2 separate regions of the Homo sapiens genome follow, and region 1 is linked to region 2. Evidence: promoter capture Hi-C in 16 types of primary human blood cells and fetal thymus (Javierre and others, 2016). All regions are on one chromosome and are shown on one strand. The core of a region is centred on a gene start or on the middle of the fragment in contact, and the rest is flanking DNA. Distances in the headings are between cores, read along the strand shown.

Region 1 (5,745 bases), core at 1,543-4,042, 310 kb before region 2:
AAATGTTTATATGGACACTGAATCACATTTGATGGAATTTGGCTGTTTTGAGTTTCTCTAATCATGCAGCCACAGGATACTTCACTAACACTAAAGACAAGTAGTTTTGTCACTAACTCAAATTTCACATTTATATCTGTATTTGTATTTATATGTATTTTTCTTACCCACAGAAACACCATGTGCACATACCCATGCATAAGAACTTTATCATCTTCTACGCTTTTTCATAACTTGTTTAAAAATTCAGTCCTAAATGACTTAATAGATGATCTCTCCAGTTAAAGAGAACCATTTCCCTCAGTAGAAAGAGCAGTTTGTGAAATAACTTACTCCAATTAGATGATGGATGGCATCATCTAATAACTAAACAGAACTTGAGACAGGAAACTCAGAAAGTATATAAGATTCCTATGTTTTCATGTCAGGCATAATGGGGCTGGAAGATAATCCATTCTGCTTCCTTCTAATACACCAACTACTGATAACACAGGAAAAAAAACTACTTTGTGAATTATCCTTTAATTTCTTAAAAGTTAACAGATGAGACCATAAAGTAATTATACATAAATAAATACCCACATACTCCACATATATACACATGCGCATGCACACACACACGAACTTACACTGCCAAACCAATGTTTAACTCCTCAAAGTAGTTATGTTGAAAAATAACATGTGCCAATAACAATAGCACTACTTGAAATTCTTTTAAATATTTTCAGGTTGTTCAAGAATGCTTGATTTAGTTTCTGTCCAGTTAAACCACCTGGGTTTGGGTCACTGCTTTGTTGCTTACTAGCTATATAACCTTGGGCACATTTCTTAACCTCTCTCTGCCTTAATTTCCTCATCAGTAAACTAGAAATGATAGAGCTGTTGCACAGACTGAGTGACTTAATATATGAAAAGTGTTTAGAACTGTTTCATCAGGCACATAGTAAGCATTCAATAAATATTAGCTTTATATGACCCATCTTCTTCATCAGATTTGGCTTTGAGGACAGATGTGACTTTTTAGTATTTCCAAAAAGTCACTTAGAGTGTGATTATTGCCATTATTGAGGCTATTCTATAACATGTACTGCAGATTTTGTTTAATCTTCCAGCATTCTTTCATAACTTGGGGTGAATAGTTTATCTGTTTAATAATTGTGTTGTTGATGGACATGCCTATATCTTGCCATTTGAATATGCCTACTGAAGATTTTGCAGCACTAAGCTCTAAGGACATCAGCTTTTAAATAGCTACCAGAAATGCGAATCAATACAACGTTCAAATAATAAGGTTTTGGCCTTCATTTAAACCCACAGAAAGGCTATAATAAAATGCGCAAGTTGGACTGTTTAACAAAATTCCAAGCCCACTCATTCTGGTTTTTCACTTTTTACATTTTTTAATCCATCCACATATCTCATCCTCATTTCTTCTAGAGCTCCAGCTGACTTGGAAATGTGCTGCCATTTCTCTTCTCGTGACTTGTAGAAACAATCATTTTTTCCAAGGCCATACACACCAAGGCTGGACAAAGCATGTTTTCCACTGCAGCTACTCTGCTATGGAACACTGCTTTCCCTCCCTCTCGCCTCTGAAATATACCATCTTCCAAAACAAATGGAAAACCTGCCACTCAAAACAAGATCTAGTAGCCTCAGGTCTCATTTCCACTCAAACCAAATTTAGTTCAATTAACGACCCCATTGCTTCAGGTAAGGCCTGATTTAGTGCCCAGTGCTTGGTAATGGAAACTTCAGGCAGATGAGGAGAAGGAAAACAAAGACCCCCAATTTGAATTCAGATTTTAAAGTGATCCAAAGCCCAAAAAAGAATAGTTCAAAGCATAAATATCAGAAAATAACACAAACCTGGAATAATAATTTTTAAATTGACCTTTAGCTTTAAGAAGAGTTTAGTGGTATTTAGAAACCTAATTGTGATCCCATTTAATCCTAGTTGTAAACTTAATATTTAAAAGCCCAGACCTTTGGAGGCAGAGGTTGCAGTGAGCCGAGATCGTGCCACTGCACTTCAGCCTGGGTGACAGAGCAAGACTTCGTCTCAAAAACAAACAAACAAACAAACAAACAAAAACAACAAAGCCTAGACCTTTGTTGCGTTTCATACGAGGGATGTGAAATGCTCATGAATTCACTCTCCCACTGTTGGTCCCCCGAGAGCTTCAATTGGCATTTCAAACTTTGCTGCCTTAATTCTTCTACTGTGACCAGCTCTCAAAGCTCCTTTTAGTGATGACAAGTATTTCTCAAAAGCAAGCAAATGGTTCTATTTTCAGTATAAAAACAACAAAACAAAATGTATAGTATTACTGAAAGAGGAACTTGAAAAATAGGAAAATGAAGCCCCCTTGTGGACAAAAATATGTTTTATCAGATATGCACAAAATTCACTGATCATATTTGAATACAAAAATACTCAGTAGAATATATTTCAAAGTAAAATGCAAAGGATTCACCCAAGATGGCCTAACTCCAATTCCCAATTCCAGTTTGTTGGGACACAAATGATCTCTTGTACCATTGAATGACCTTGGAGATCAGCTGAAAGAACTGTGGCTTAAGGAAATGTTTTAATTTGTCAGGAGAAAGAAGTGTGTTTTAAATGGTGGGACACAGAGGTTAACATTCTGATTGCTGGCTATGAACTCCCTCCAGAGTCTGAGATGTTATCAGCAACTCTATCCCCCACGCTCCCACCTTCTTCTCCCACTTAGGCTGCAGACAGACTTTCTTGCCACCTCCTCCAGGCCCAGATGACAAGTAGGGAGAGTGAGTCATCATGCAGGATAATCCGAATGTCTTGAGAACATGCTGTTTGAAAAGTCAGAAACAGCACTGAATCTGAAGACTTTATCACATTTGCATTTGCATAACTGCCTTTGCCCCAGACTCTGCCACTAACTTTGTTATTTTGGGCAAATCGCTTAACCTCTTGATCTTTAATTCCACCTTCTTAAAATTGGAATAAGAGCAATACTCTCTTTATCTGCTTCACCAGGTCCTTGAGCTTCTTCGCTAACTATGAAGGAAGAAGTGAGAGAACACTGTGGTGCCAAACTCAAACTCGCATTCTAGCTCTGCCACTTGCTGTCCACCAGCAGCCCTTCTGCTTTGGACCTTGGAGAAGTGTCAAAGCCTCTCTGCATTGCAGATTTCTCATCTTTAAAATAAAAATCATATCCCAGAGAGTTGTTGAAGATTCACTGGGTAAATGTAAAGCGCATAGAACAATGCCAGGCACTGTAAGTACTATGTAAGTAATAACTATCATTAGGACCATGTAATGGACCATGTAAATGGTTGTTATTATTACTGTTTGATATGCTCTGAAATATAGAAATAAGAAACATCATCATCTGAAATAATCTCCTAAGTTTAAAACTTTGCCTGGAAAGAAGTAACTGGTAACCATAGCTTTGGAGAAACTATGTTATTGAAAACTGCATTCTCGTGGCTCTACTATGTTGATAAAATGCATATGCTATATCTATTAGCTTTCACAAAAAAGTAAACACACCTGATGTGTGAAAATTATTTAATAATGTTAAAGGTTATCAATTTATGAGAACACTCTGCAATTGATCAATACACACAGTCTTTCCAGAAAGTTTCTATGCTCATTTGCCATTGTTATTACACATTCTAGTGGATAAAAGAGATACCACACTCCAATAAAAAATGAGGGGCAGATATTAAAAGGATGTTTTAAGGAATCGCCACACTGACTTCCACAATGGTTGAACTAGTTTACAGTCCCACCAACAGTGTAAAAGTGTTCCTATTTCTCCACATCCTCTCCAGCACCTGTTGTTTCCTGACTTTTTAATGATCGCCATTCTAACTGGTGTGAGATGGTATCTCATTGTGGTTTTGATTTGCATTTCTCTGATGGCCAGTGATGGTGAGCATTCCTCAAGGATCTAGAACTAGAAATACCATTTGACCCAGCCATCCCATTACTGGGTATATATCCAAAGGACTATAAATCTTGCTGCTATAAAGACACATGCGCACGTATGTTTATTGCGGCACTATTCACAATAGCAAAGACTTGGAACCAACCCAAATGTCCAACAATGATAGACTGGATTAAGAAAATGTGGCACATATACACCATGGGATACCATGCAGCCATAAAAAATGATGAGTTCATGTCCTTTGTAGGGACATGGATGAAATTGGAAATCATCATTCTCAGTAAACTATCGCAAGAACAAAAAACCAAACACCGCATATTCTCACTCATAGGTGGGAATTGAACAGTGAGAACACATGGACAAAGGAAGGGGAACATCACACTCTGGGGACTGTTGTGGAGTGGGGGTAGGGGGGAGGGATAGCATTGGGAGATATACCTAATGCTAGATGACGAGTTAGTGGGTGCAGCGCACCAGCATGGCACATGTATACATATGTAACTAACCTGCACATTGTGCACATGTACCCTAAAACTTAAAGTATAATAATAATAATAATAATAATAATAATAAAAGGATGTCTTAAATGTCATAAATTGCCTACACAGGCTATCAAAATCAGCAAGGCCAATTCCTGGATGCCTCTTGGCTCTTTTTCATCAAGTCTAAATTATGTTGACATTGTTAATAGCCATTGTGATTAAATCATAAAATTTCAGTGCACAAGACTTCATCATTCTAAAATCCTGACAGCAATTTCATTCACATTATACTGTAGACACAAGGAAAGCAACACTGTGATTATACACCCTAATCTACATCCCTTTTTCTTGGAATATTTAAAATTTCATAATGTGTTATTTTTCTTCCTTCATAACTTTGGGCCACAACAGCAGTATATAAAGTGGATCAGTCAGGTTTGCAGACAGTGTGGCTGGTACTTCCATCCCAACCTCCTTTCCTGCTGAAACGAACAAGGCAGAGGCGCAGGGTCAAGGGCAGTCAGGGTTAACCAGCAGGCAGGGCTGGGACCTTGAGGAGTCACAAGGAGACTTCAAAGCTGAGGGCAACAAACCTGACTCCCCACCTAGAACACAGAGCCCTCTTACGTGTGGTAATGTATCCTGATAAAGCGGGACTTGGGGCTTGTTATAGGCTGTGTCAACTCTAGCACTACTCTATAGTACCAGTTTCTAGTGTCCTGGTGGATAGAAGTTCTAGTAGATGAACTTCTGGGACTTGACTCAATCCCATAAACATTATTATCCCAGATTATCCCAGAAACAGGTGGAGTGATGAAAAAATGTGTGATTCATATCTACAAAAGAATCTAGCTTTGCTAGGTCAGTAGCTTACAATGTTTTTTCATTAATACCAAAACTAAAGAATACATTTTTCAAAGCAACCTAGTATGCATATATATATTCTTATGTGTGTGTGTTTAAAACTCTATATATATGAAGCAAAATTTTCACAAAAAACAATATTTACCCTCATTATACACAACACATTCTGATACTACCCATTCTATTTAATTTTTTAAAAAATTGGTTCTGACTCAATTAATTTCACAGCCCACGCCACAGGTTGCAAGTGGGGGCTCTGGGCAAAGACATCCTGGCCACAAGACCCGCCCGCTCTTCTAACCATATGACTTTGGTCAAGTAACTTAACCTTTCTGTGCCCCAAGTCTGTTGCAGTCTTCATTTTATTTCAAGAGTCATTGAGAGAATTAAACGAGAAATCATTTAATCATTTATGTGATACTTTTAGAACTGAGCCTGAGTCTTAGCAGGGGGTCAATAAG
Region 2 (5,676 bases), core at 2,703-5,202:
CCCCCATGATTTAGTTATCTCCATCTGGCCCCACCCTTCATATGTGGGGATTATTACAATTCAAGGTGAGATTTGGGTGGGGACACAGCCAAACCATATGACCCCTCCACCAGAGTACTACAGCCATCTCACCTACAATGTTTTCTTCTAAATAAATTTATTCACCTATTACACAGAAACAGTTTCATGAAGTTGAAATAATTTTGGTTATGAAGTCGAAAGTTCAAAACTCTATTCTTCATTGTTCCATTCACTAATTCTGTGATCTTGGCTGAGTTAACTGCTCCCTATTTCAAAGAATTACTGTGAAGAAGGTAATGTGTCTACTAAAGAAGATTGTGTGCAGTATAAAGCTCTCTAAAAACATAAGTCACTGGCCAGGCATGGTGGCTCATGCCTGTAATCCCAGCACTTTGTGAGGCCGAGGCGGGCAGCTCACGAGATCAGGAGTTCATGACCAGCCTGACTAATATGGTGAAACCCCATCACTACTAAAAATACAAAAATTAGCCGGGCATTTTGGCGCGTGCCTGTAGTCCCAGCTACTCGGGAGGCTGAGGCCGGAGAATCACTCAAACCCAAGAGATGGAGGTTGCAGTGAGCCGAGGTTGCACCACTGCACTCCAGTCTAGCCGACAGAGTGAGATTCTGTCTCAAAAAATAATAATAATAAATAAAAAAATAAGTCATTTATTTAGCACTCAGTTATTTACTGCCTTGTAATCCTTCCGTTTCTTGTGTGTTCTCATATTTCCAAAATTGCTTTTACAGTTGCATGAGGCTGGCTCCTTCCCTTGCACCTTATTTGTATCCTTTCCAGTGCTTGAGTTGGTTGATAACTGAGTCAACTACTTTATGCCCTTCTTGACCCAGTAGCTTCCTCTTGCCTTCATCATGAACTCATCAATCTCTTCTCCTCCTATAGAAGCCTTCCTTCATTTACTGAAAGAGCGCTGGTGGTTTTTCTAACATACTACCCCTTATGCAGAGAAATGTGCCATTTTGATATATGTATAGTCTGAGAATAGAGTTAGTATAGACAGAACATGAAAACAATAATGGTGGATCCCCAGAAGGCTGAGAGATGATGACATCAAAATGTGTGCAGAGAAAGACTGCCAAAACAACAAAGAAGAGGTGTGACAGGGCCAAAATCTGTGTTCATCCAATGCTGTCCAGCGCACAAGTTCTCCAAAGTGCTGTCTGAATGTTTGGTTAATGGGTCAGTATGAAAATTTATATATCATGCCTTCATTATTTGAAGCTCTTAAGCCTTAGGAACATTAAATTAACAAACTGGCTCTGATTTCATCCTTGACAGGAGATATACACGTAAGTTTTCAAAGTTGTATTCATATAATATGGAATTTTGTGGTGAAACCAACCTCAACATCAGGCCTGCATAATGTTTTATTTCTGGTGTAAAAACTGGCTTATTCAGCAATCACAAGCAAGTTTGTAACAGCATAATTTTGGCATTTTCAAATCCATTCATCTCTGGATCACTTGATAAGAGTTTCTGTACTTATAATACAATGGACTAGAAACTATCACAGTGATTTTATCAAAATAATATCACCCTAGGGGGCCCTGCCTAAGCGGTGGTCAGTCAACATCCCTGCCAAAGATAAATCACTCTCTTTCCACCTCAAAACACAGTTATAATGACTTGGGTTTACACGGCTCAAATTACAGCAGGTATTCTATGAATTAATTTTAAAATGCATGTTCCTAAGCCATTTGCTTGTACAGCCTGAGGAGTTAAAATATCTCGTGTATTCATAGAGACATGAACACATCCACTATGGAAAACAAAGACAAACCAAAGACTCTTGTTGCTCTGAAACCAAAAAAAGTTTGAGGTCTAAAGGTTCTCAAACTTAAACGTGTGTATGTGTCATGAGGAGATCCTGTAAAAGTACAGATTCTGACTCGGGAAGTCTGGGGTGGGGCCCAAAATGCTGTGTTTCTAACAAATGCCCAGGTGATGGTACTGTGGAAGGTCCCAGATCCCACTTAGAGAGCAAGGCCAGAGAGCTTAAGCAACATAGCAGTGTTCATGTCATATAAACACAGGGACTTTGACTTTTTAAACAATTCAGCCAGAGAACACCAAAGTAAAATTATCAGGAAGTGATACAACACATCTTACATACATTTTTGTTCTTTACTAGGAATTATGTTTAAAAGGGAATACTTTCTGCATAATCATTGCTTTTTCTACTGTATCCATTCTTACTGAGCCATGAGAGTAGGAGTCGAGCGGTTCCTCTCACAAGTTTTACACAGTAGGCTATGGGCTTTGCTCAGCCACCCGAAAACACACATGCCACAGAGCGGGAACCAGAAGAGCAGGCAGCACCCTGAGCACCCTCTCTGAAGCTCCACAAGCTAACAGTGACAGGAAGGGCACTCCACAAACATCTCAGCTCATTCCCTGCACTTTCTGGAAACACATCATGATCAAATGGCATAATGCCCCTTCATCCAGATCTTGCCATGAGTCTTAAACAGAGCAGAATTGAAAGTGAATGGCTTTTAGGATATACAGCCCTCAATTGCCTCCCCATACCTACCCCTAAAATTCATGACCGTTAGCAACAGCAAAGTTAGGCCCCCTGTGCCAGGCAACAGCCAGGGGAGGGAAATAAAGAGAAAAAACGAAGCAATTAGATGACGTGCCCAAGTAGAGGTGGGTTTTGCAGGGTTTGTTTGTTTTCAGGGATTTTTTTTGGTAGAATTGCCTTATTTAACTGTTAAATTACTACTTTATTATCGAGTTCAATTTTTGCTTTTTTCCCTCTTCTTCTTTTGTTCTGATTTTAAGATAGTCTCACTCTGTCACCCAGGCTGCAGTCTACAAACACGACTCACTGCAGCCTCAACCTCCTGGGATCAAGCGATCCTCCCACCTTTGCCACCTGTATAACTGGGACCACAGCCATGCACCACCACAACCAGCTAATTAAAATTCTTTTTTAGAGACAGGGGTATCGCTTTCTTGCCCAAGTTGGTCTTGAACTCATGGGCTCAAGTGATCCTCCCATCTAGGCCTCCCAAAGTGCTGGGATTACAGGCGTGAGCCACCATGCCCGGCCTCAGTTTTTTCCATCTACAGGTTGTAGTGCATCGGTGAATGATGAAATCATTTTGATAGGTCAGAACTGGGTTGTTTAAAAATGCAACAGGTGGGGGTGCATCACAGTTCAAAGGAGAAGTGTTGTTTCTCAGTTGTGTGTTGTTTGTACCCAGTTATGTTGTAAAGTGCACTGCTGACTGGGGGTCATGAGTAGAAATTTGAAAAACACTGGACTATAGTTTGCTCTATGATAGAGAAGGGTTTCTTTTAACACCTTCACTGTTTTTAACATATTTATTTTGACTGTATTCACTTGGTATTTGATTGCCTTAGCTAGATGAATCAGGGTAAATAGCCTTTTTCAGATATTTCCCTGCTCTTTCCACTATAAATTTCCTGAACTCATATAGCATGTTTAACCCATACATGTAATAGTAACGTCCTTCAGGGTATACACCATATGAGTAGGTCACATTTAATCTACATTCTAAACTATTGCTGAGCATCGTACTCCATCCTCTGCATCCAAACAGTTGCTCAATAAATACACAGCTTAGCATGGGGAATGAGCCCTCCGTAGCTTTCGAGTTACAAGAGCACCATCTTCTGGCGAAATATTTTCTTTGTAGGGAGAATGTCAAAGACCTACCAAAAATGTCCTGATTTTTCTAGCAAAAATTATAATTACATCACAAATACTTTGAAATTCTGTAGAGCTCCTTGCTTCATTCAGGAGTTTCGCTTCATTTCCCCTCTGAGAAGTGGTCTTTCTGTTCCTTAGCAGTGAAAGCAGTCAGCCTGTCCTTCCTGGTTTTCCGTTAAACTAAGCCGGTTTCAAGTTTCAGCTCCTCCTTGAATTCCAGGCTGCTGAGACTTCCCTCTAGAATCCTCCAACATGGAGCCTCTTGCAGCTTACCCGCTAAAATGTTCCGGGCCCAGAGCAAAGGTATTTGCAGTTTTGCTGTCTATAGTTCTATGCACAGTAACGCTATTTCTTCTACAACTAAAATTCCTCAAACCTAAAATCAACAGCTTTTATGCCTTTGAAGTGAAGGATGCAAAAGGAAGAACTGTTTCTCTGGAAAAGTATAAAGGCAAAGTAAGTTGCATCATCTGATTTTTATTGTTATCATTTTTCCTTGTCTCTGTTTATTCCTCTTAATAAAATCAATTTTTTGCTGTTACATGGTCATAAGTTGGAATTTAGTCTTCAGAGTAATGGTATTAGTACATCACTTTAGTTATTACAGTTCTGATAGTTTGCTTCTAAATAATAAATTCCGATTATCTCGTTTTCTTTAAAATGCTTTAATTTTGTGCTGAATTGACATGTAAAGTTGTTTGGAAAATACTTATAGTTAGTAATGTGAACATGATGACATTTATTAATAAAAGTATTGGTTCTATAATCTAATAACTTTAAAAAGAACTTATCAAGGATCATAGTTTTATCTTTAATTTAAAAATAAACTTTCATGAGTATCTAATGCTTTTTTAATGGCAGTACTATTTCAGGGCCTTAACCCAGGCATCTAGGTTACAGTTTTCAATAGAACTGTGTATGTCCAAAAATATGAAAAAAACATCAATCAGAGGTTATAGTCCCCCCCAAATTGTTTAGGATTTTAACTACTTGCAGAATTTTTTAAAATCTTTTGCTTCACTTTCCGGTTGGATTTTTTTCTTTTTCCGGGAGGTTTCACTAGTTGTAAACGTGGCCAGTGACTGCCAACTCACAGACAGAAATTACTTAGGGCTGAAGGAACTGCACAAAGAGTTTGGACCATCCCACTTCAGCGTGTTGGCTTTTCCCTGCAATCAGTTTGGAGAATCGGAGCCCCGCCCAAGCAAGGAAGTAGAATCTTTTGCAAGAAAAAACTACGGAGTAACTTTCCCCATCTTCCACAAGATTAAGATTCTAGGATCTGAAGGAGAACCTGCATTTAGATTTCTTGTTGGTAAATATCTGCCTTGCATATGCTGTTTTAAATTGCTTTTCATTTTTAAACAATTATACCAGGACAATACTTTCCTATTTCATTTGAAACGTTGTATCGGGAAAGCTTCATAAAACTATCATCAAAGAGCCAGAATCTCATCCTTTGTAACTTCTAGGAGTTATGCTCCCCTGAAATCAATGTTTTAGCTTCTTAGATGGTAAAAGAATTCTATTCCAATATATTTTATTCCTTATTACCATCTTCCTGAAGAATTTACTTAAAGTGTGCCCATGGCTATTTTCACAAAATATCTTAATTCTCCTCTCTTGTAACTAGCATCTGGAGAAATGTCCCTTCCCGTCATTATAGCCACACAGCTCTCATGAATAGTGCTGGGCATTATTAGTTAACATATGTTTGTGGCTAATTTTATGTTGTCTTTCTTATCTGAAACAATATTCTCAAAGATGAATATGTCAGCTTACCAGATTTTTGCTAAAATCCAAAAACATATAACTTGGTTTTTTCAGAGGGCAGTAGTGTTAGGCTATTTCTCCAATTAAGCTAGCTACAGAAATCTGTTTAAAGACTTGCCAAGGTCACTTAGCACAAAGGTCATGAGGCATACAGACAGCATAGGCTTTGGCCTCAAGCTAC

The links. The method cuts DNA at HindIII sites, captures the fragments that hold promoters and counts their contacts. A CHiCAGO score of 5 or more calls a contact.
Region 1: a contact is called between a fragment that was not itself captured here and the fragment with the promoter of GPX8 in region 2, in 3 of 17 cell types (total CD4 T cells, naive CD8 T cells and naive CD4 T cells). The highest score is 6.2, in total CD4 T cells.

The regions. Positions count from the first base shown.
Region 1 is chr5:54,842,964-54,848,708 of GRCh38, forward strand. It overlaps the pseudogene CSPG4BP. Among named protein-coding and RNA genes, the nearest start is that of LINC02998, 100 kb to the left of the region's middle. The HindIII fragment of the contact is 9,684 bases long and covers 1-5,745 here.
Region 2 is chr5:55,156,219-55,161,894 of GRCh38, forward strand. It overlaps GPX8 (glutathione peroxidase 8 (putative)), which reads left to right and starts at 3,953. Exons shown (of 3, transcript NM_001008397.4): 1 at 3,953-4,178; 2 at 4,776-5,037. The coding sequence starts at 3,975. All of the region lies in intron 2 of CDC20B (cell division cycle 20B), which reads right to left. The HindIII fragment of the contact is 5,226 bases long and covers 1-5,140 here.